Regions from separate parts of the Homo sapiens genome. Here region 2 is linked to region 1. The links are contacts of gene promoters, found by promoter capture Hi-C in blood cells and fetal thymus (Javierre and others, 2016). All regions are on one chromosome and are shown on one strand. The core of a region is centred on a gene start or on the middle of the fragment in contact, and the rest is flanking DNA. Distances in the headings are between cores, read along the strand shown.

Evidence for each region. Contacts are between HindIII fragments. The CHiCAGO score rates a contact against its expected background, and 5 or more counts as called.
Region 2: a contact is called between a fragment that was not itself captured here and the fragment with the promoter of TSPAN12 in region 1, in 2 of 17 cell types (erythroblasts and megakaryocytes). The highest score is 6.3, in erythroblasts.

What each region holds. Positions count from the first base shown.
Region 1 is chr7:120,854,801-120,860,472 of GRCh38, reverse strand. It overlaps TSPAN12 (tetraspanin 12), which reads left to right and starts at 2,329. Exons shown (of 8, transcript NM_012338.4): 1 at 2,329-2,653; 2 at 3,640-3,775. The coding sequence starts at 3,710. LOC124901733 (a long non-coding RNA gene) reads right to left here and starts at 3,638. Exons shown (of 2, transcript XR_007060491.1): 1 at 3,265-3,638. RefSeq lists silencers at 2,675-2,974, 3,167-3,386. The HindIII fragment of the contact is 3,134 bases long and covers 1,818-4,951 here.
Region 2 is chr7:121,100,219-121,106,163 of GRCh38, reverse strand. All of the region lies in intron 7 of CPED1 (cadherin like and PC-esterase domain containing 1), which reads right to left. Among named protein-coding and RNA genes, the nearest start is that of CPED1, 110 kb to the right of the region's middle. The HindIII fragment of the contact is 2,201 bases long and covers 2,252-4,452 here.

The DNA.
Region 1 (5,672 bases), core at 1,080-3,579:
ACAAAAAAACAGATCTCACAGAGAAAAATATAGAACCCTCAGAATGACAGCTGCGATGTGAAGTCTTACTGTGCTTCCACAATTCTGGGAAAGAGAAGAATTGGAGAGGGAGGGAAGAACAGCTGCCTTCAAGTAGTTGAAGGGCTGTCATATGGGAGGAAGGCTTGCTCATGCCATGGACTCCAAGGGCGGAACTAAGGTTGAAGGGTAGAAGTTAAAAGGTGGTATGGTCAAGTTTAAGCAATAAAAACTGCCCATTACTGCAATGTCTCAAATGTGGTGAGGTCTCCTCTACTGAAATGTTGATTCACTGTCTCTGATGACCATTTATCAGGAATATTAGAGCAGTAACTACAGCTCTGTTTTCTTCTTAACTTGTAAAATGGGGATAATAATCCCAATTTATCGACTCACAGGAGAGGGATTTGATCCAACGAAATCTAAAGAGACCCTTTTGCTAGTTTTTAGGCAGCTGTAAAGCCCTCGTTGCAGGGTTTTCAAATTTTGCTGCAAACTAGAATTACCTTGGGAGCTTGGAAAACCCTGTGTGTCTAGGCCTCACCTGCAGAGACTCCGATTTAAGTGGTATCAGGCATGCCAGAGAATTAGGGTTGTTTCAAAGCTCTCCAAGTGATTCTCGTGTACAACAATTTCGAGAACCATTAAACTAGAGTACTAAGAGCCATTATTCTGGATTTTACTTTGGAATCTAGGTTGGACTACAGATGTGACGTTGAGCAACTACTTTATCTTGGATCTGTATTTCTTGTTTACCAGGAAGAAGAGGACATGCATACTTCTAAAGTAACTTCCTCTAGTATTTTATTACTTTAAGGCAGTTGACCCTTAAAGGTATACGAATTAAGGAAAGGGCACTTAACTACCTTCTAGGAGTAGAAGAGGATCTCTGCTTTGACACATGGGAATTGTTGGCACTCTTTTTCTCAGTTTTAATAGCAGTCATGGACTCCTTTCAATGCGGGGATGTTTATACCTCTCCGGGGAATGTATGGCACCAACAGCATTTGGATGGCTGGTTGTTTCAGCAGTCCTTTGCTTAAAATAGGCATGCACCCTAATTTGAGAAGAAACTGGCAGAGGATAAAAGTGGGTTTCTTTGCTCTTCCCCAGTATTCTAGAAGCTGCTTCATTATCAGAGTTGGAGTCATCTGATGGATAACTGGACATGTTTCTTGGTGTTTTTTTTGTGTATGGCTATACTTCTTTATACTCTTTTGGGTTGCTGTCTTACATACTGCTTAGTGACTTGCTTACCAATAATTTTCCTAGCCTAACCCAGGACAACCATGTTGTCTTTTGGTCTTGACTTTTCCATATGAGACTGCATGTCTTATTGTCACTCCAGTCATGCAGCAACTAACTCTAGACAGGCAGTCATGGACATAGGATTCCATTTTTTTTTTTTTTTTTTTTTCTGCAAGGAAATCCAAGGACTCCAGTTATTAGGTCAAAGATGTTGCTCGTATTCCAGGTAATTCATATTTGCTGGTGAAGTTTTATTTGCCATGCAGTGCCCACAAAAGTAATCCTAGAAATGAGCAGTACTGTGAGGCATAGCACAACACATCCACATTTTATGTGGAGGATATGATCCAGTGGCATTTTATTTAGTGTGAAACTTCTGTCTTCTAAAAGGGAAGATTCTTTTGGAAGGATGGTCTCCTGCTGTGTAATACTTCATGAATTTCTAGTTTAAAAAAATTAGATTTTCCAAAGATCCACTACTATGTACACATTTCAAAATAAATCACCCAGTTAACTCAAAACAATCTTATCGTGAGAAATTTTGGAAAGCTTGAGTTACTTCTAAGAGTTAAAAATGTTCTTTCCTCCTCTTCTGCATGTCAGACTGCACATGATTACTCTGATGTTTCCGTAAATGCTATTAGTGCACTATGAAAGTGGGAAAGAACTTAAAAAAAAAAAAATCCGGGAGGGCAACAAAGCAATAAGAAGGATCATAGGGCACCATGTTAATAACAAATCACAGGAGGTGGCTCCATAAAGGTTGTGAAAACTAGTTTCTCATTGCAGGAATTGGGTTGGGCCACCCCTTCACCCCCCTTCTCAAACACAAATATTATCATATAATAAAAGCCTGCTTCTCTATGCTTATAACCCAGCCTCCATTCCTTCGACGCCACCATTTTAAAGGGATTTACTGCACGGACTTCTCCCAAGTTCCTAGGCATTATCTTCTGGACCCTATCCTGCAGAGGTGAAGCGTCCCTTTGGGGACTCTCGCTGGGTGAGAGGGACAAGAAACACCCACTAGGACCCAACCCCGGCAGCCAGCGGCTCGAGCATGCGCTGAGAGTTTGTGCAGCTGGCCCTGGCTGCCGCCGCTGCCTCGTCCGGACTCGGAGAGGACTTGGGAGGGACAGCGGCGCTGGGAGGTGGCTTAGCAGAGACTTTCCAGCAACTGCTGCCCAGGACTTTTTTTTTTTTTTTTCTTTTTCCCAGGAGGCGGCGACGGCGGCGGCGGGGGGAGAGGAAGAGAAAGAAGCGTCTCCAGCTGAAGCCAATGCAGCCCTCCGGCTCTCCGCGAAGAAGTTCCCTGCCCCGATGAGCCCCCGCCGTGCGTCCCCGACTATCCCCAGGCGGGCGTGGGGCACCGGGCCCAGCGCCGACGGTAAGTGGCCACGCGTCTGTCGCCTTTCCTGCCCGCTGTCCCGCCAGCCCGCCGGCGGCTGCCCTCCGCGCTGTGTGCTAAACTACTTAAGGGCTGGCTCTGGGGCTCCCTGCCGCCGGCGCTTCCCCTCGCGCCCTGCCGGGGGCGCGCGGACGCGATGGCTGGGTCGGTGGCCGCGCTCGCTTTGTGCTCCGCGGGCGGCTTTGAGCGAGGGGTCGCGGGAGCGTCCCGGGCGGGGGAAGCGGGGTTTGAATGACTAACCCGGCGTCTGCACAGCTGCATCGGCCCTAATTCCCCGGCGCCCCCCGCCCCCCGCCCACTGTCCCAGGCTAATCCATCATTCTGGGGCCGAAAACATCATTTCTCACGTTCTCCCAGAGAAACCCTAGTAGCCGGGCGGAATCTCAACTCCGCGCTGCCCCCTCGCCCCCGCCCCCGCCCCCGCCCCGCCGCCCCAGTCCCTTGCATTCACACCCGAGCTGCGGGACGGGGTAGAGGGGTGCGGAGTTGGAGTGCCCAGGAACTGTCCTAACTAGAAGGGCGCTCATTCTCTCGGGCTTGCCGGTGGCGCCTCTGACGTGTCCGGGGTAGGGGGCAGTGTGGTTTCTCACCTTCAGGACAGTGCCGAGCACAGCTGTCCTCGAGGAGGGGCGTGGAGTGAGGGAGGTTTTCAAGAGCGTCTCATCAGAATGCACAGGGCTCCGCCGCGTGTCCCCTGAGAACGCGAGTTTACTGTGCGACTTCATTCATCCGGATAGTTGCTCTTTTCTTTTCCCAGCAGGTGTTATCTGAAGCCGGTTTGGAACTTTTGGGAGTTTAGTTACCATTATGATTTTAACAAATGATTTTTGATGAGGCGATGTCTCGAATGCACTGGGCCTCGGGACCCTCTGGACCCTGCTGAGGGCGGGTGGAGGAGGGACGGGCAGGCTGTGGGAAGCGTGATGGTGAGATGTCCCGTGTTCTCTCTCCCCCGCCCCCTGCAGATCGCTGCCGTTTTGCCCTTGGGAGTAGGATGTGGTGAAAGGATGGGGCTTCTCCCTTACGGGGCTCACAATGGCCAGAGAAGATTCCGTGAAGTGTCTGCGCTGCCTGCTCTACGCCCTCAATCTGCTCTTTTGGGTAAGTAAGTTTCACTGCACCAACAGGTGGGAACGGCTGGCTCTGGTTTTCTGCAGCCACCGGATAATGCGCCAAAGGGCATGGCTAAGCATTAATTAATTACATGGGATAACACCCTTTATTTTTCAGAGAAGTAAAATTTGACCTTCTTAAAATGCCTTTGATCTAGCTCAAGTTCCATTTGTAATTAGAACAAAGAAATCCACCCCTGGATACTACTGGCAGTAAAATTAGACTTGAAGTTAATCTAGGGATATAAATAAATGCACGTGCTTCTACTCATAGATAAGAAAATTATGACATACTACTTAGGGAACTGCTTGTTTGCGGGAATTTTAGATAATTGTGCAAGCCATAAATTGTTTCTTTACATCTCTGTCGCCTGTAAAATCTAGTTGGGCCAAGTCTTAATATATTTTTTGTGGGCGGGGACGAGGGGGAGGTGGTGGTGGAATTCACACCCAGATAACCTATCACAGAAAGGCTGAGTAGATTTGTCTAGGGGATTCCATACGGTCTGAAGGGTGATTTTTATGTAACTAATTCTAAGTTGGCAAAGTTTAAGGAATTGTGTGTATGCTTTTGGAAAATCCCATAACCATTTAAGGAAATAAAATACATAAAATGTAACAAGCTCATGGAAATCTTTATGCCCTATGAGTTAATGACTTTTTATGCTTTAAATCTTAATAAAGTATGATTAATAATCGTATTATTACTTATAAAACTTAGGAAAATGTAACAATTTAAACAGTAAATGTTGCTTCAGGAGGCTGCCATTCTTAAGCAAATTGTTCTTTCCATTTTTTTGTGTTCTATTAATAATTTTATTCAAAATTTTCTGTTACAAATTTTATTGTGCAATTTATTTATGTGGCTGACTGGCTGGCGTGCTGACTGGCTGGCATTGCCCAGCCTTTTTTTCATAGGGCTATTACATGTGGTCTCTAGAAGATGACATTTAGGTTGAACTGCACCTTATAGATGGCCCCATTTTAAAGGATAAATTAAGTCTTACTTCAGTGAGTAATCTGAAAATATCTAAAATGGCAGCATTCCTTTTCTCAACATTAAAGCATTAATTTCTCAAAATTAAAGCATTGGGTAGTTAAATTCACCATTTGGAAATGTAAAATCACAAGTTGATCTTATTGTAGTTTATACTTCTTAAAAGCTTGATTTTTAAGTGAATCATTAAATTACCTGGATCATTAAAAGTTATTAAGAGTTTAAACTCCATTTCTTTAAGATGTATGATAATTATCACTCCTGTTTACTAGTTTTTCACTTTTCTACATTGTGCTTTTTAATTATAGAATCATCACATTCCACTTCTAAAAGGAGCTTTAAAGATGGCCTGGTTGAACGTCCTTCCTTTGTGAGTGAGGAAATTAAGTGCAGATTAAGTGACTTGCCAAAGATCAGATAGTCCAATGGTGGCAGTGCCAGGAACAGAATTCAGCTTTCTTGCCCCTAGACAGTGTCTTTCACTTGACCCTTACTGAGTTTTGAACCTTAGAATTACTAAGATTGTTGTTGTTGTTGTTTAATAAAGAATAAAGCTTTGAAAAATTTGTTAATACTTTACATTGTGTGGGAAAAAAGAACCAAATCATTCAACAAAAATATCACTCCTCTTGGAAATGAAATTTGCATAAAAGCACCTATTCCTGAAACTCTTCCAGGGCTCTTTGTGTCCCCAGAGAATGTAAACGTTATTTCTTTGTTGTTACCCTGTACTTAAACCTTCTAACTTTCTATGTTTGTGTGTGGTGTGTGTGTGTGAGTGTGTTCTGGTTTATTGACTTATTTAGATTGCTTCCCTATTTCTCCAGCCCTCCTCTTCTCCCAATATCACCTACGCTTCAACAAAATAATCCAGGTTAAGCATCTTGTA
Region 2 (5,945 bases), core at 2,103-4,602, 240 kb before region 1:
AATCATATTTTCCCCAAATGGCAGTTTTTAATAAGTTATTATTAATGAGGTACCTTTAATTAAAATAAGGATGATAGACAACGATTCACTGATAAACATTTTTGAGCATCTGCCATGCGCCAGGAACTCTGTGAGGCTCTGGAAATGCAAACACATTGCTTGCCTTTTTGAGGCTTAGAGTCATCTGCTTAAGTTATCATTTTGGCCAGATAAAGATGATCATCATTAATGAATAGTTTTCTTTACATTTAGGATAATCATCCAAGTTCAGCCTTCAGAATTAACGAATGTACAAAATGACTTGACAAATCTTTTAATAGAACCAAGTTGGGAATGAAGGAATGAATGAATGAGTGAATGAATTGCTTTTTAAAAAGACACAAAGTTGCTATAAAGAGTATTAGTGCAATCTAACATCAATGTGGGCTGATTACTTTGCAGTTATTATAAAAGTTTTTAAAGTAAGTCAGCTTTGGTCACAAGTTTATTCAATTACATGCTGGTTATTTATAATTTCTATTTATATAAAATCATACTTTAAAATGAACACCCTGATGCAATTTTAAAATTTAATTCAAGCAAAAGTAGGTTAAGTAATACGTCAACTCTTTTTACAAACTCTCAGGAGAAGACTTTTATTCACATTCTTTCTACAGCTGACATAAATCTCCCGGGCCTAGCGAAGGGCCAGATGCTCAGTCAAAAGCCTTTTACAAGGTCTGCTTCGTAGCCTGCAGTTTTGGACATAAAATGAAGATCAGGGGAAGAACACTTCCTAAGGTTGAAAAACCATACTGTCACTTTATACTTTCTTCCAAAGACATTACTCATTTTTACCTTGGGAATATATAAGCAATCTCACCCAACATTATCAAAGGCAGTGCATAAATATTGACGACAAATGAGGCTAACTTCATCCCTACAACTGTGTCATATTTCCAAAATGAATAAGGGATATATGCATCTTTTTAAAAGGAATCTTGTACATAACACCATTCCTCTCTTTGCCACAGTTCTCCTCTGCCCTCTGTGCACATTTGCTGATTGTATTGATGTGAGAGGGAACTGCAAGCACTGGAGATGGAAGAATGGTCCCCTGAAGGCCAGTGCAGCGGTGGTAGAGAGCTGGTGATTTAGAACTTACAAATCTGACTTGAAAAAAGGCTACGGTATCCCAGATTTCCCTATCTCTATCAAAGTGGCCCTTATCCAGAAATTCAGATTATGACATCTGTCTATTGCATTTACTGGAAAACAAATGATCATTTGTATAATATTTACCTATATCATGTATATATCATTGCAAAGTAGAGTGGCTGGCTTATAGCAGTTAGGGATAAAGTAGACTCAGGCAATTTCTTCATGCAGTTAAAATTTTTTTAATGACCTTTGATTCAATTCAATCGAAGAGACATTTATAGGGAGCTGATTATATGCAAGGAATCATCTTCATATAACTTTATATCTGATGTCAAATATGGAATAGCAACAAATCTAACATCTTCAAATATGGGATGGCTGATCAAACAATGAATTAATTTATGTCTTGACTGGACAAAATAAGGCTTTGGACAAGCTTTTCTGCCAGAAGTCACAAATCTCTTCAGCGATACATTTTCATAAAAATAGTCAAATATGGTCAGAAGTACAAAGAATCTTCAGACATCATAAAAAGTTACAGATATTACAGTTGCCTCTCTGTTGGGTAACTTATTTTGTGATTTACAACGGATGAAGGGATGACTTGTGACTTTTTGCTCTAAGAACCGAATTTAAATTTATGACATTTCTTGCAGTTAATCTTTATGACCTGTGTTTTAAGACAGACATAGATGCATTTAACCAAAAGTTATAGTTAGAATATTTGTGAAAGAATTTTACTCGTGAATTTATAGATACAAACTGAAGTTTTATAATTAAGAGCTTTTTAAGGGAAGACATTTTAAAATAAAATATTTCTTAAAATTAGATTTATTATACTCATCAAGTAAATGATATTGTCTTAACAGCAACAAATAGAGTTGATTTAAAATCAGATCAAATGGTATAGTAAGCAAATATTACATTTGCGAATTTTTCCCTTTCAAAACTTCCTCTGATTTTAGGTTTGAACATCCTTGGGAAACATCTAACACTAAAATTTTTAAATATTTTATTATGTAGAAGGGCATTAAAAATAGTTTACAAAGCTTCTATTTTCCATTATTCCTCAAATTTGCATTTCTTGATTTTTTTTACTCTCTCCAAAGCTTTAACAGATAAAGTATCTCAGCAGAAGACCTAATTGGAAATAAATGAGCTCATAGTTATATCTGTTATTGCCTTCATACCTTCTTTAGCTGCCAGAATGTTCTATAAATGTTCACTGATAACTAGTTTAGTGGGCTTGCCTCATCACACAGTACATAAATCACTACTGATTTAACTAAGTCATTTGGGCTTTGAATTCAGTACTCAGTACACACACACGTGCACATACACACACACACACAAAATTATGTTTTGTGGAATTTAAGGACAGTGTTTAATAACATGCTGGTATAGCGTGGGTAGTTTTTAAAGTGGGTTTGGTTTTGTCCTCCACATTAGCAGTGAGAAGTTTCTGTGTATTTTTTCACATCTAAAAATACCAGTAGAAAGCAGTATTTCTGAGGATGGTTAAGTAATTTAACAGATGAGTTATAATCTATTTGTTTTAACTGAAATAACAAGTACATCAGTTGAAGGGTAAATAAATATCCTCTTGTTTTCTGAAACTTATCTGTATCATCAAGCGTAACTTTGAACTAGTAAGGAAACAATCACTTTCTCCACATTGACCCAGGAAGCTGCACTACCTCCCTCTGAGGAGATAACAGTATTGTCCAGAATAATCAGGCAAGATCTTGAAAAGATAAATCCCAAGGAGAGGATGAAAATGACAAGAACTGCATGCTTTCCTATGCTACAACCGCAGCTTGCATCTGTCTCACAGAAAAGACAAAAATATGAATAAGAAAGGAGATAGTGAATGAAGCATGAAAATCTAAAGAAAACCAGATCACAAGGAGATTTCTTTTTTCATTTATTTTCAGGAAATACATAAATAAAAACTATCATAAAAATTAGCCTGTTATTTGTATCAGGGTAGGGGGAGCGGCACTTACATACAAAGAGGAAAAATACTTTAAAAATTATTTAAAATACCTAAGAGCTTCAGTTTCCTGTTAAGATGATTCACTAGCCCAGGTGAAATGAGAATGAAGCAAGAATTTGATAACAAAGAAAAATAACAAACACCTCTTTGAAAGGGAGTCTAGAGCTATTGTGAACTGGTCTGACCAGTGGTAGCCACGGTCAGGGATAAGTGGAGTTGGGGGAGGGGAGTTGTTGGAGGCTATTTGAGAGGACAGGCTGAAGGAAAATATTTTCGTTTTCCTCCTAACTCTCCCCTGTCTTCCTCTAGGGCAATTATTGGTTGTTCCTTCCTTGTTAAGGATGCTAAGCCCAGGCCCAGGATTCAGATTGCTAAATTTCTTGGGAGAAAGGAGGAAAAACTGTATGGAGTTACTGGTCACATGTGGCATTCACTCCTCCACCCTACTGTCTGTCAACCTTCAGCCTTGATGACATATAACGGAGGAAGATGTGCTTCCTCCCTGTGCTTTTATGCCTAAGAGAGTTTAGGGGGTGAAATTCTGACCAGGGAAGTTACCTGGCTACAAAGGGAAGTGACCAAAAGTGGTTTCTTCATGTTTGGAGCACATTCTGTCCCTTCTCCTTGGATTCACCTGAAAGGACTGACCTTCCCCAAACATCATACTAGCTGGAATAAATAATGTCTGCAGGAGGACTTAAGCTCAAAGGACAAAATAGAGAATGCACAAAAAATACAGCTACTTCAAAAGAAAGGCAACAAACTGAACAATATATATCATGCTACCAAAACTGATAGATGAGGAATTTAAAATAAGCATGCCAGCAATATACTCAAGGAAATAATGGAAGATAGTAGCAAAATAAAATGTGAAAAAGAAGTCATTAAAAAGAACAAAGAGGAAATATGGTAAAAAATATCAGAAGTAAATAAAAATATACATAGTTTTTAAGTGAAGGGGCATGAGCATTTAAGTTATACATGCAGCATTAAATAAATAACTGAAATACAAGAAACAACGGATGAGACAGCAACAAAGCTATAGCGTAAGAAGGATTTTGATATAATTTGGATATTTGCCCCCTCCAAATCTCATGTTGAAATATGATCCCCAATGTTGGAGGTGGGGCCTGCTGGGAGGTATTTGGGTTGCAGGTGTGGATCACTCATGAATGGCTTGGTGCCTTCCCTGTGGTGAGTTCTCCCTCTATTAGTTCACAGGAGAGCTTGGTTTAAGAGCCTGGCATCTCTCTTGCTCCCTCTCTCACTATGTGACATGCCTGCTCCCACTTTGCCTTCCACCATCAGTGGAAGCTTCTTGAGGCCTCACCAGAAGCCAAGCAGATGCTGGTTCCATACTTGTACAGCCTGCAGAACCATGAACTAAATAAACATTTTTCTTTATACATTTCCCAGCCTCACGTGTTCCTTTATAGCAATGCAAAAACGGACACAGATTGTACGATTCAAAAGATAAGATTGAAGAACTGTCTCAGAAAACAGAAATGCTTCCAGAAAGCAGATAAGAAAAGCCAAATAATATAAATAGAAATGGAAGGATCAAATCTGGTCAACAGGAGAAGGAAGAATAAAAACAGTGAGCAAAAATATTTCAAGAAATCATGAAAACAAATTTTTAGAATTAAAGATTAAGGACATCAGACTCAAATTGAAAACACTCAAATAATAAAAGAAATAAATCCAGGAGGGCATTGTAAACAATGTGGGGAAGTAAGGATGGTAAGTGTCTTGATAAAGTTTTGTTTTGTTTTTGAGGAAAAAAAAAACCAAAAAAGGGAACAAGTGATTATTTCAACTAAAACTAAAAATCTACATTGTGATAATGGGATTTGGGGACATGGTACAGAGACCAAAAGAGTCTTGAGAAGGCAAGGTTGGGAAGCAGATAGAGATATTGAAAAGTCTAAGAAATCATAGGAAAACATAAACAATGAGTGCATGTTTTAAATTAACAGTGACCACTGTATGTTATATAGGTAAAGAATGTACAACTTTTAAACTTACAGAAGAATATGTAAGCTTTTCAGTGAAAAAGCAAAGTTTAAGAGGAGAAAAAGAAAGCATACTAAATAAAAAAATAAGATGGCAGAAATAAATTCTAAAATTTGCTCATGCCTTCTTCTTGAGGTGGAAGATTTTCCAAAATTCAAAATTCAGTTTATGAAGGTAAATTCTGAAAAAAATCAAGTTCAGTCATTTTCTAATCTGTTCAAACTATGAGGGACCCTATGCATTCTTTCCATTTCTATTTCCTCTTTTTGGTATGCAGAACAATAAAATACTGTAAAATCAAAATTTCTTTCAAATTTATCAAACATATTGTCACTAGATCTCATTTTCAGCCAAGTTGACCTGAGCTACCTTTTATAACTTATTAAACTTTTTGGGATTATTATTGAGTTCTTCCCTGAAATCTTCCCTATTATCCTTTATGTCATAGCTTGCTATATTAGGCACACTTGAGAGCTTTATTTTTCACTCAGCAAATATTCCATATTGACTGGTGTGATGAACTAGCATTATGCTTCCTAAGGGTGAAGCAAAAAGCACAAAGGCAAAATTGTATTTTCATTTGTTGCCTTGACTATATTTTTCTTGAATAAGTGAAAAATTAAGAAAAACAGAGTATAGCTGTGAACTAGCTCTGTAATAAGTAGATCAAAGAATTGAACTATCATGATGAATTGAGAAAAAAGAATGTAGCCTTTGTGATCCCTAGTGAATTAAGCTGCTTCCAGTTCATTTTTAAACCTGCACCTATTAAGTGAAAATCTTTTCTTGCGGCAAT